Linked DNA regions of Homo sapiens: regions 2 and 3 are each linked to region 1. The links are contacts of gene promoters, found by promoter capture Hi-C in human tissues and cell types (Jung and others, 2019). All regions are on one chromosome and are shown on one strand. The core of a region is centred on a gene start or on the middle of the fragment in contact, and the rest is flanking DNA. Distances in the headings are between cores, read along the strand shown. Region 1 holds the start of MRPL42 (mitochondrial ribosomal protein L42). Region 2 overlaps EEA1 (early endosome antigen 1). Region 3 overlaps EEA1 (early endosome antigen 1).

What was found. The method cuts DNA at HindIII sites, captures the fragments that hold promoters and counts their contacts. A contact is called where the count stands out against the background at its distance.
Region 2: a contact is called between a fragment that was not itself captured here and the fragment with the promoter of MRPL42 in region 1, in 1 of the 25 tissues and cell types used here (heart left ventricle).
Region 3: a fragment that was not itself captured here is called in contact with the fragment with the promoter of MRPL42 in region 1 in 1 of the 25 tissues and cell types used here (dorsolateral prefrontal cortex).

The regions. Positions count from the first base shown.
Region 1 is chr12:93,465,533-93,469,352 of GRCh38, forward strand. It overlaps MRPL42 (mitochondrial ribosomal protein L42), which reads left to right and starts at 1,982. Exons shown (of 6, transcript NM_014050.4): 1 at 1,982-2,022; 2 at 3,660-3,820. The coding sequence starts at 3,754. RefSeq lists enhancers at 1,814-1,873, 1,934-2,203. The HindIII fragment of the contact is 7,004 bases long and covers 1-3,820 here.
Region 2 is chr12:92,845,969-92,849,788 of GRCh38, forward strand. All of the region lies in intron 9 of EEA1 (early endosome antigen 1), which reads right to left. Among named protein-coding and RNA genes, the nearest start is that of EEA1, 81 kb to the right of the region's middle. The HindIII fragment of the contact is 4,086 bases long and covers 28-3,820 here.
Region 3 is chr12:92,862,164-92,865,983 of GRCh38, forward strand. EEA1 (early endosome antigen 1) reads right to left here. Exons shown (of 29, transcript NM_003566.4): 3 at 2,697-2,824. Among named protein-coding and RNA genes, the nearest start is that of EEA1, 65 kb to the right of the region's middle. The HindIII fragment of the contact is 8,401 bases long and covers 1-3,820 here.

The DNA.
Region 1 (3,820 bases), core at 732-3,231:
GCTCACAGCCATCAAGACTTGACCTCTGGAATTATCTTTGATCCATTCTTCTTACACTTTACGCAGGGAATGTTCAACCAGTCCAGTTGACTGCTCATTCAAATCTGTTTCTCCTCTCTGTCCCTTCCTATTGCACAGTCCAGAAAGACATCATGGGTGGCTTTGGAGGATGGACACGACTGGAAAGGACACAGATGGGCCCTCTGTGGGCTTCTATAAGAGCAAAGATTAGCCTCCTGATATTCCGTGGGAAATGAGGAGACACACTACACAGCCCGTATTTAGTTTTCTTTACTATGTGATGTGTGTTCACTTACTTTCAATACTAGTCACTTCAGGAATATGGTTCTTAACTTGTTGAGGGGTTTATCAATTCCCTGGAATACATAATAAAAGCTATAGATTATTTCTTAGAAAAATATACAAAAGCAAAATTTTGCAAATCATGGGAGAAGGGAATTTCCAGGCGACCGCTTCTGCTTTACCAGCCAATCATCTACTGTCTTGGATACTTGCAGCGTTATCTAGTCTTTTCATTCATTCAGCAAACACTTCCTGGAGACCTATAATGAGACCAAGCACAGTCTGAGATGCTGGGTTTGCATACAGTGAAGAACAAGATAGACATATGTCTCTGTCTTCAAGGAGCTTACATTATCCAGCATAAGAGACATTAAACGAGGTTGGGTGTGGTGGCTCACGCCTGTAATCCAGCCCTTTGAGAGGCCGAGGTGGGCATATCACCTGAGGTAAGGAGTTCGAGATCAGCCGGGCAAACATGGCGAAACCCCATCTCTACTAAAAATACAGAAATTAGCTGGGCGTGGTGGTGGCCACCTGTAATCCCAGCTAATTAGGAAGCTGAGGCAGGAGAATCGCTTGAAGCTGAGAGGCGGAGGTTGCAGTGAGCTGAGATCATGCCACTGCACTCCGGCCTGGGCGATAGAGCAAGACTCCGTCTCAAAAAAAAAAAAAAAAAGAAAGAGACATTCAACGAGCAAACAAATAATCAATATAAAGTCAGGTAATGGTAAATATTCTGAAGGAAAATAAAGCGGGGCATGGAATAAGGGTGGGTGAGGCTATTTTAATGGTGTGGTCCTTTCTAAGATGATATTTGAGAAAGACCTGTAAGGTCATGAGAAGAGGTCAGAGAAGCACATTGCTGGCAATGGGAACAGAGAGTGCAAAGGCCCAGAGGTCTTTCCTTCCTCCTAAGATGGAAAGCGAGGTCCAAGATTCTGCATATTTACTTCCTCCCATAATAGGTAGCCAGCACAGTTCTGAGGGCACAGTGCCAGGTTTTCAGAGTGGAGGTTCTCTTCAGGTTCTGATTTCAAACGTCCAAATCCTAGCCTCCACATTTCAGGGCTTCTCTGGAATGTCTCTTCCCCTGGGAAACTTTAACTCATCTACTAAAGAGCAATCTACGATTTCTCTGAATATTAACATAATTTTTTTAAAAAGTACTTATAGGTTTGCATGGTGGCTCATGCCTGTAATTCCAGCACTTTGGGACGCCGAGGCAGGAGGATTGCTTGAGACAAGCCTGGGCAACATACCGAGACCTCGTCTCTACAAAAATATTAAAAAATTAGCTGGGTGTGGTGGTGTGCGCCTGTAGTACCAGCTACTCAGGAGGCTGAGGTGGGAGGCTCTCTTGGGCCCAGGAGGTAGAGGCTGCAGTGAGCCGTGAGGGAGCCATTGCACTCCAGTCTGGGTGACAGAATGAGACTGCCTCACAAAAAAAAAAAAAAAAAAAAGCTTGTTACTTTCTAAGGGTATGTGTTTGGGGCAGTGATTTTGTTTTTCTGGGCACCTTAGTAACACTGCGGCCACGCTTCCCCAACTAAAGGTAAAAGTCCATAGCAACAATCCTCCCTTTCTCTCTGCACCCGGGCCGCTTTCCCGCGGAGACTACATTTCCCAGAATGCCCCGCGGGCTGGGACGGCGCGCGCAGCGCTGTTTCGTGGGACCAGGATTGAAACAAGATGGCGGGTTCGTGGTGAGAAGCCGTCAAGGTAACCGCTTCCCTCTACTCCTCCTGTCGAGGACTTCCTCGAAACTGGGCAGTCCCACAGTGTTGGTCGGCAGTTGTAGAGGTCTCCCGCCTGTCGTTCCCGGCAGGGCGAGGTTGCCTGCATCCCCAGCCTTTGTCCTTCCTGCAGAAGAGCCGGCATGTGGCTGCGCGTTTCTTATAGCGCCCCCTTTGTTCCCTGGCGGACGCCCGTGGGGAGGTGATGCAGCTTGTGGCTCTAGGGACTCCTTTAGGTCGAAGAGTTCTGGTGCTCTTGGTAGCCTGTTCCTCAAACCTCTGACCCTCAGAGGCTCTGTAGCTTTTGTTTTGGGGTTGAATTCCGGGCTGAGGGACTTGATCTCTGAAATGATCTTCCTGGGGTGAATAATCTGACTCCCAGCAGGGCGTGCTTTTCTCTGGGCTTCGGACAGAGGGGACCTAATTTCCCCCAAGATGTTTTATTCGTGGTCAGAAGTCATGGGTTTACGTCCCACGCATGTATTAAGCAGCGATATACTGAGCAAGTAATCGATTGACCTCTCTGAGCCTTTGTTCTTAATCTGAAATGGAGATGCTGCTTCACACACTTGTGAAAGTCAGAGCACATATTGTATATGAAAGTGGGTTGTAAACTAAAAAGCACACCTATGAGCTCAGGGTTAACGGTGTTAATGTACTGGCAGTGCAAGGTATCAGTGTGAGTGGTTTAGACTAGCAAATAAGAGGGCCTGTGTCCTAATTCTCTTTTATCACTATTGGGGGGAAGGGCACGGATACTCATTGAAGACTATTAAAAACAAGATTTAACAATGGTTATTTGTCATTTATTCACAACAGGCCATGAAGATTGTGGTTTTCCCCATTTTGTCATTGGAGAAACTGAGGATCGTTTAGTTAATGACTTGTTTAAAGTTTCCCAATTTGGCAGTGACTGACTCTAAAGTCCTTGGAAGCAAGACGTTTAAATTTTGTACTTTAGTTTCTTCATGAATCAGAATAAAGATACCTCACATGATTAATACGAGAGCAAAATGAAATGGTGGTGAAAGTACGTTGGAAAGTTAAAGACTTTGTACACATATAAGATGGTGAAATTTTATCTGGGACTTGAGGGCATTTATGAGTTCCTCCAATTGAGTAATAGGCTAAGGATAGGCCTTGTTTGATATTTCTTTATTATTATTATTATTATTAATGGCTCAGGGCAGACAACTATTTCATTTAATCAGAAACAGGATAGTACTGTAAATGATGTAGTATCTTGTGTATGGAACCTTGGAGGGTGTACACAGCCACACTAGCATTAAAAGAATGAATACTCTGTGTACCATTTGTGAGTGACTGTTTCAAGAGTAATTACACATTTACTGAGTATTCATTAAGTGGAAGGAGCTGCACTGGGTCCTGCAGAGAAGTTTGTATCTAAGATAAATAGTAATGGACATAGTTCCAGTGGTTCTGATCTTATATTCTGTCCATGTCGCTCTTCGTCCTGTTGTTCAATCATGTGGAATTGCCAAGTTGTTTAAAAGCATTGCTTCAGTTGACTTCTAGGCAGTGATTCTTACCTTGTTCTTGTGGTGTTTAATATAACTTAAATTTACCATAGGTAGCACTGATTTTTCTTTATCTCTTCAGCAGGAGTAGAAATTGGTATGCTTAGAAGCAGATTCTAAAAGCAGTTTCTCTTCAGAACATCTTTTTTCATACCACTTGATAAGCATCTTGAAACACCATGGCTGTAGCTGCAGTAAAATGGGTGATGTCAAAGAGAACTATCTTGAAACATTTATTTCCAGTCC
Region 2 (3,820 bases), core at 821-3,320, 620 kb before region 1:
TGTTATTGAATTCAATACTGAATTTTTACTAAAAAACTTTACAAAATAAGGAAAGATATTTCAAGCAAACATCCTGCTGGTGCATTAGAATTAAAATTATTGTTTTAATATGCTACAACTATAAGTAAATAATCATTTTAAAATGGTTGAAGCTATGCATGATTAGCAAAACAAAAATGAGCATGTCTTCAAAGCTCTAAGATTGCCTTAAAACATAAAATTGCCATATAACAATTGAAGGTGACACATTAAGGGTATTATTAATATTAAAAAGCCTCCCAAAATCACATTACCTCAAGTTTAAGCATCTCCATTAGAAAGCAGAAAAAGTAATAACAAAATGGTGGATGAAAGGTGGCAGACAAGACTGACAAAAGTACACACTGAGCACATAATTAAAATGACCAAACATGCCTACACATCTAGTCTCTTAAAGAAGCATACTTTAAAAGATATTTAAATACTTTCATAGCTATGCATGGGTATAATCATACTTATTCCATATCTACATGAACATTTTAGCACTTAAAACTGGGATTCAATGAGTTTATTTGGAAAAAAGTAAAATTCTTTAAAAATCATTTCCATTAAATACTACACCAAATATAAGTTGATTACAGCTTAGATATTTTCAATAATGTAGATTTGTATAAATATACTTTTTAACCTTTAAATCCTCAATTTCCAATCCATAAAACAGCCAATTATCTATAAAGAATTTTCAAATGCTTTAGAATGAGATATTTTCTATATGCCTTCAAAAATACCCAGGCAAAAAGAAGTCAATGAATTCATAAGGTATGCATTCAATGAAAATAATAAACACAAGGACATACATAGTTAATAATGTACACCAGATTATGTATCTTCAGCCCCAACTAGGTATACTAGTCAAATAAACATTTATTTGAGCTAAATGTTAAAACACATATTCCTAAAATTGCCATTAATTTTGTTTGAAATAAATGTTTACTTGAGATTTTAATTTTTTTTCTTTTTTTGAGACAGAGTCTCACTCTGCTGCCCAGGTTCGAAGTACAGTGACATGATCTTGGCTCACTGCAACCTCCACCTCCCGGGTTCAAGGGATTCTCCTGCCTCAGCCTCCCAAGTAGCTGGGATTACAGGCATGCGCCACCACACACCCGGCTAATTTTTTGTATTTTTAGTAGAGACAGGGTTTCACTGTGTTGGTCATGCTAGTCTTGTACTCCTGACCTCAGGTGATCCACCGCCTGGGCCTCCCAACGTGCTGGGATTACAGGTGTGAGCCACTGCACCTGGCCCTTAAAAATAAATTTTTAGCTTCTTTAATTCCTTTGTATGTGTTTTGTTTCTGATGCCAATATTTAGGTTTGGTAAAAACAGCAACATCCATAATAAAAATTGTTGTATTAAGTCCTATAATTCACTAACATACTTAATTGAAAATAACTAGAATTGAATTTTAATAAATTAATAAAACGTCATATATTCAGATTAAGGAAAAGCTAAAAAACAAATGCAGTTATAAACAAATAAATGAGATGAAGTAATTAGTAATTTTTTTCATATGGAAATGGTATGACACAACTCAAAAGTATTTTAAGCTATTACCCAATACAAATATTACAACACACAATATGGCAAAATTAGAAAAGTAATTAACAATAAGTTTTAGGACAAGATTAATAGCACAAATTTACTTAAAAGGCAATCATCAGACCACCTAAATTAGGAGACAACATAATAAAAAGGGAATGACACAGGCTTTGGACAAAACCTGAGTTCCAACCCTAGCTTTTATATTAGGTGTGACCTTGAACAATTTACTTAATCTCATTGCCTCTCAGATTCCTCACATGTAAAACATACTTAATAGTTAACTTACAGGGTTATAAGAAACAAATGCGACCACGTTTTAAGTGCCTAACATAGTATCCAAAACCTACTGGTGCTCAAAAGAGTAAGAGTTTGTTTCTAATAATAATATTATTCTGACTCTTAAGTTACCATTTCCTAAAGTTATTCAAAATATTTTAACATAGCCAAGGTCTCATTCATCACTACATATCTATTAATTAAATAGGTAATAAGTATTATTATTTTATTAAAAATATAATGAAATATTAAATCACCTATTCAGTTACTCAGCACAAATAAGTTCCTTTCTAAATTTATTTCCAAATACTTGAAAAGATAAATTTTTATGAAAATTTAAATGAAAACACGAAGAACTGATTTCTAAGCCATTTTCCTTCTTTCCTAGAAATACCTTTTCTAGAAAAAAAAAAAAAATCACCATTTCTTACAAAGCCCTGTTTGCAGGAGGAGACGATGGAGGGAGACACTAAATTCTTTCACCTCCCTATCTTTCATAACTCTAGTCATAGAATGGGTGTGGTGACTCACATCTTTAATACCAACACTTTGGGAAACTAAGGCAGAAGGATCTGCTTGAGGCCAGGAGGTCAAGACCAGCCTAAGCAACATAGCAAGACCCCATCTCTACCAAAAATAATTTGTTAAATAAAGAAAAACAAAAAAACTCTAATCATAGCTTTTTCATCTTAAATGACTTATTCTCCTTAGATATAAAGGTATTTTAATCTACAATAGAAATATAAATTCATAAAACACTAAAAATTCTTAAATAAGAATTTATTAGAGTAACTCTTAAATATTACTTAGAAATGAGTAATTCTTAAATTAGAGTAACTCCTAAATGTTACTTAGAAATGTCTTCCCATTAGCAAGTTATATTATATTCTCACCTTTTTTTTTTTTTTTTTTTTTTTTTTTTGAAACAGGGTCTGCCTCTATCGCCCAGGCTAGAGTGCAGTGGTGTGATCATGGCTCACTGCAGCCTCAACCTTTTGGGCTCAAGCAATCCTCTCACCTCAGCTTCCCACCTAGCTGGGAGTACAGGTACGTGCCAGCACGTCTGGCTAACTTTCTATAGAGACAGGATTTCACCATGTTGCCCAGGCTGGTTAAACTCCTGGACTGAAGCAATCTGCCTGCCTCAGCTGCCAAAGTCCTGGGATTATAGAGGTGAGCCACCATACTCAGCCTGTATTTTTTTTAAATGCAAGTAAACATGTAAATTTATTTTCCTTGTTAATGTTCTATTTGTTTAAAAAGTATATGCATAACTCCAAAACTTGCAGCTGGAATAAGTCAGAGAGGACTCAACTTTAAAATACATATTCCTAAAACTGACATTAATTTGGTTCTGTTTTAGTCACCATAATACATTTATTTTAAAATTTCAAATAGCATTTAAGATATTTTTTAATCAAAAGGGAGTGTATTTTTTTTTAATTTGAGAAATACCAATAGGCAGACATATCTAAACAAAAATAGTTCTTACTGATACAAAGAAATAAATGACTGGGTTCACCCTGGTTTAGGTATTTTGACATTAACATCTGAATAGCACTTTTCCTCATGAGACTTCTTTGATTCAGCCTCTCCTTGATTTCACATTTGTACTTATAGATTTATCATTGTCTTCTGCTGATTAATAATACCAGTAGGACAAGAGCTTTTAACTGGCTTCAGTAAGTTCATGAACCACCTGAAATTGTTTGAAAATTTTTGGAATTAAGTGTTATTGGGCTACAAAGTGTCAATTTTGGAAAAACTGCATCCAAATATCATAAGTTAGAGAGTGTAGTGTTAGGCATCATAAGGCCTTACATGCCTATGTGTGTTATATCCACAAACTTTCACCATCTCTTCCCATAAGATAAAGAAAGATTTTTAAAAATGAATTAGACATGGGTTATCTATAATACTTATACCCCAAAGCTTGATGACATGTTATATTTGTGAATAG
Region 3 (3,820 bases), core at 943-3,442, 600 kb before region 1:
CAGAAACTGAGGTGTAGGAAAATGGGAAGAAGAGATACAATACAATAAAAACGGAAACGCATGCAGTAACTTCCGTAAGCAATGAGAAGCCTGCAAAAATTACTACTTAGAGCAATGCCAATCAAATTTGCATTTTAAGAATATTATTCTGGCCAGGCGCAGTGACTCAGGCCTGCAATCCTAACACTTTGGCAGGTTGAGGTGGGAGAATTCCTTGAGGACTTCTTGAGGTTCTTGAACAACATAGTGAGACACTGTCCCAAAAAGAAAAAAAAAGTAAAAATTAGCCAGGCATGTTGGTCCATGCCTGTAGTCCCAGTTACTTGGGAGGCTGAGGCACGAGGATTACTTGAGACCAGGAGTTGGAGGCTACAGTAAGCTATGACTATACCAGCCTGGAAAACAGAGCAAGATCCTATCTCTAAAAAAAAAAGAAAAAAGAATATTATTCTGGCAGCAATATGGAGAATTGGAGGAGTACAAGACTAAAGATAGAGAGCCAACTATAAATATGAAAAAACATTTCTGAGTGAGATTTAAGGCCTAAAATAAACTATAACAGTAAAAATGTAAAAGAATATATGCTGTTAAGGAAACAGAATTAACTAAACTTTATGATAAATCAGATGCGGGTAGGAGGAGCAGATGTGTAAAAATGATCACACCTACTTTCCTGGCTTTACTAACTGGGTGGACAGATAATGACACCATTCTCCAGAAGAAGTAATAGTAGACAAGCAGTAGGTTTAGAAGAAAACAGAAAAAACTCTGTTTTCAAAATGTCAATGATGAGGTGCCTCCAGAACATCTGAGGGAAGATACCTAATAGGCAAGTTGGGAGATAATTCTAGGTTGGAGATATGGTTTAGGAGGAAGTTATGGATGTAGATATTACCCTAGGTAGATCATACAGAGAAAGAGCAGCATACAAAACAGATCAAGAAAAAATTATCACAATGGTATGTCATCTCAGAAGAGTAGAAGGAAGGAGAACTGGCACAGCCAAATTTTGCAGTGGTTGTTGCAGATACTCTACAGAGATGACTACAATCAAGTTCTTCCTTTCCTATACTAATCCACTAAAAGACAAAGTTTATCTTCAGGCCTCATGAATCTGACTTGGCACTATGACTACTTTATCCAATAGAATGGCAGAAGTGATGCTCTGACACTTTTGAATCAAGCCTAAAGAAGATTGGCAGCTTCTGCTTCTTTCCTCTTGGAACATACTACCTTAGAACGAACTACCAGCTTTTGAGGAAGTCCAAGCAGCCACATAAAGAGGCCCACATGAAAGAGAATTGAAGCCTTTGGCATAAAGCCCCAGATGAGCTCCCAGCTGGCATCCAACACAGACTTCCAGCCATGAATGTGAGGCCATTTTGAACCTTCTGGTCTTCCTACAACCCCAGTCTCCCTCACTTAAAGCAAAAGAATCATGCAGTCAATTCAAAGAATCATGAGAATTCATAAACTGTTATAGTTTTAAACCACTATGTTCTTTGGGTAGATTGTCAGACAGTAATAGATAATCAAAACAGAGGTCAAGCAAAATAAGAACTGAAAATAATCCAGGTTACTGTTGGTCTTCAGAGCCATAGCCAGAGAATGGTAGGGCAGAAGTCAGGCTTCAATTAACTAAAACACTAAATGAAAAGTTAAGAAGAACAAGGGTAGACCGTGGATGCTTTTATGTTAAAAGTTCATATACTGGACACAGTCTAATTCATAGTTGAAACACAACTCTATTAAATTGATATTAAATATAAGAACATTTATAATATAATTTAACTACATGTTTTTAATGTATTTCCTAACAAATGACAAAAGAATAGTAGCCAAAATTATTAATTCACACATAAAAATACCCGAGAGCATTAGCAGTCATATTAAAAAGGAAGATCCATTCTTCCCAAAAGCACTGGTTTTCCCACATATTTTAATACAGTAAAATGGCCATGTTTTATAGATCTACATTATCTATCAACCACAAAGTTTATATGGTTATCATATTTTCCTTTATGTAGTATTCTTTGTGTTACAGCAGATTAATCAACCAGTAAGTTTTTTTTTAGGAAAGCATAAAAATACTTTTTTACAAGTACAATGAAGTGAAACTTTTATGCCCTCAGTGGGGATAAAAGACAAGAGTTCTCTCCAATAGCAGAAGAAATGCAAAGTTATACCATTGAATGCTATTCTAAGTAGTTATATTTTAGTTTACTTTTACTTCTTAAAATGGCCAAGAAAAATTACCAGGAAACACAATGTGTACGTATGCTTATTGCTATACTGGTGATTATAAATGGAAATTTTTAAATTTTAAATTAAAAATTAAATTTTAATTGTTGGCTAAATTTATTATTTTAACAACTTACTATAAAGTCATCTAAGCAAATCGTATCATCTTATATTACACACAATATGCTAAATATAATTTAATCTTCTTTTGCTAACTCACAATCTTCATTAAAAACATAACCTATGTACCGTATTGTACTTGCTGGCATAGATAGTTACTGGTCAAGGATTGAATAGTTTTTAACAATAGTGGAGGAAGGATATGCTAAATGATGACAGATTTAAATTAAATAATACAAAAAGGTTACTATTTTCATAAGCTAATTAATCATGATTAAACGACGATACCACATGCATATTCCATAACATTATACTTCAAAATTATCATACCGTACCGCTTCAAAGCAAGATTAGACTCTCCTCCATGACCTGAGTCATTACCAGCATCATGAACAGCTTCATAATGTTTGAAAAGTTCATCAGCAGATCCAAGAGATTTCATACACTGGGGACATATGAAACCCTATAGAAAGGGGCAGAAAAAAGTTTCAAAATAGTATTTAATATTGTGAAATAACAATTTGCATATTATTAAATATCACCAAATGTCTGAATCATACCAATGGTGCCATTAGGTAAATTTTATCTTATGGTATTAATCCCAAATTCTAGTATCATGCAAAGATACTTCATTGTCTATTCTAGTTGAAGTTTACAAAATACAAAGAAAGCCCTTGCAACCATCTTTTATTTTTAGGTCAGATAAATTAATAGCTGGAGTACCCAAGTCTAATCTGAAAAGTTAGTTCTAATATAGATTAGTTGAGAAGATTTGCCATCATATCCTTCCTTTCTCTAGCTATCCTCATTAGTAAAATAATATCTGTTCCAATCTACTTCATAGGAATGCTATGAAAAAAAAAAAAAGAAGATGAACCACTGAGGGGGAAAAAAAGTAATTCATAATCACCACAGAGTTTGGATATCTACAATGATAACAAGTTTTCTAGTCAGTAAATGTCCTTGCTAACCTACAGCTAACACAGTAAAGGCCTAAAATTAATGTGTAGCCCCATAAAATATAAAAAACAAACATAACTACATAACTAATCTCAAAATTATTATATGGTTAAAACTACCAACTAGAGTACTATGTTAAAGATGCTGATAAAGATCCATGTTTTACAAATTTTAGGTTGCAATTCATTAATGAATTATGAAATCAACTTACTGGGTTGCAACTTTTATTTTTTTATTTTATTTTATTTTATTTTATTTTATTTTATTTTATTTTATTTTGAGAATGAGTCTCGCTCCGTCACCCAGGCTGAAGTGCAATGGTGCAATCTTGGCTCACTGCAAACCTCCACCTCCTGGGTTCAAGCGATTTTCCCTGCCTCAGCCTCCCGAGGAGCTGGGATTACAGGCACCCGCCACCACGCCCAGCTAATATTTGTGTGTTTTTAGTAGAGATGGGGTTTCGCCATGTTGGCCCGGTGGTCTCGAACTCCTGACCTCA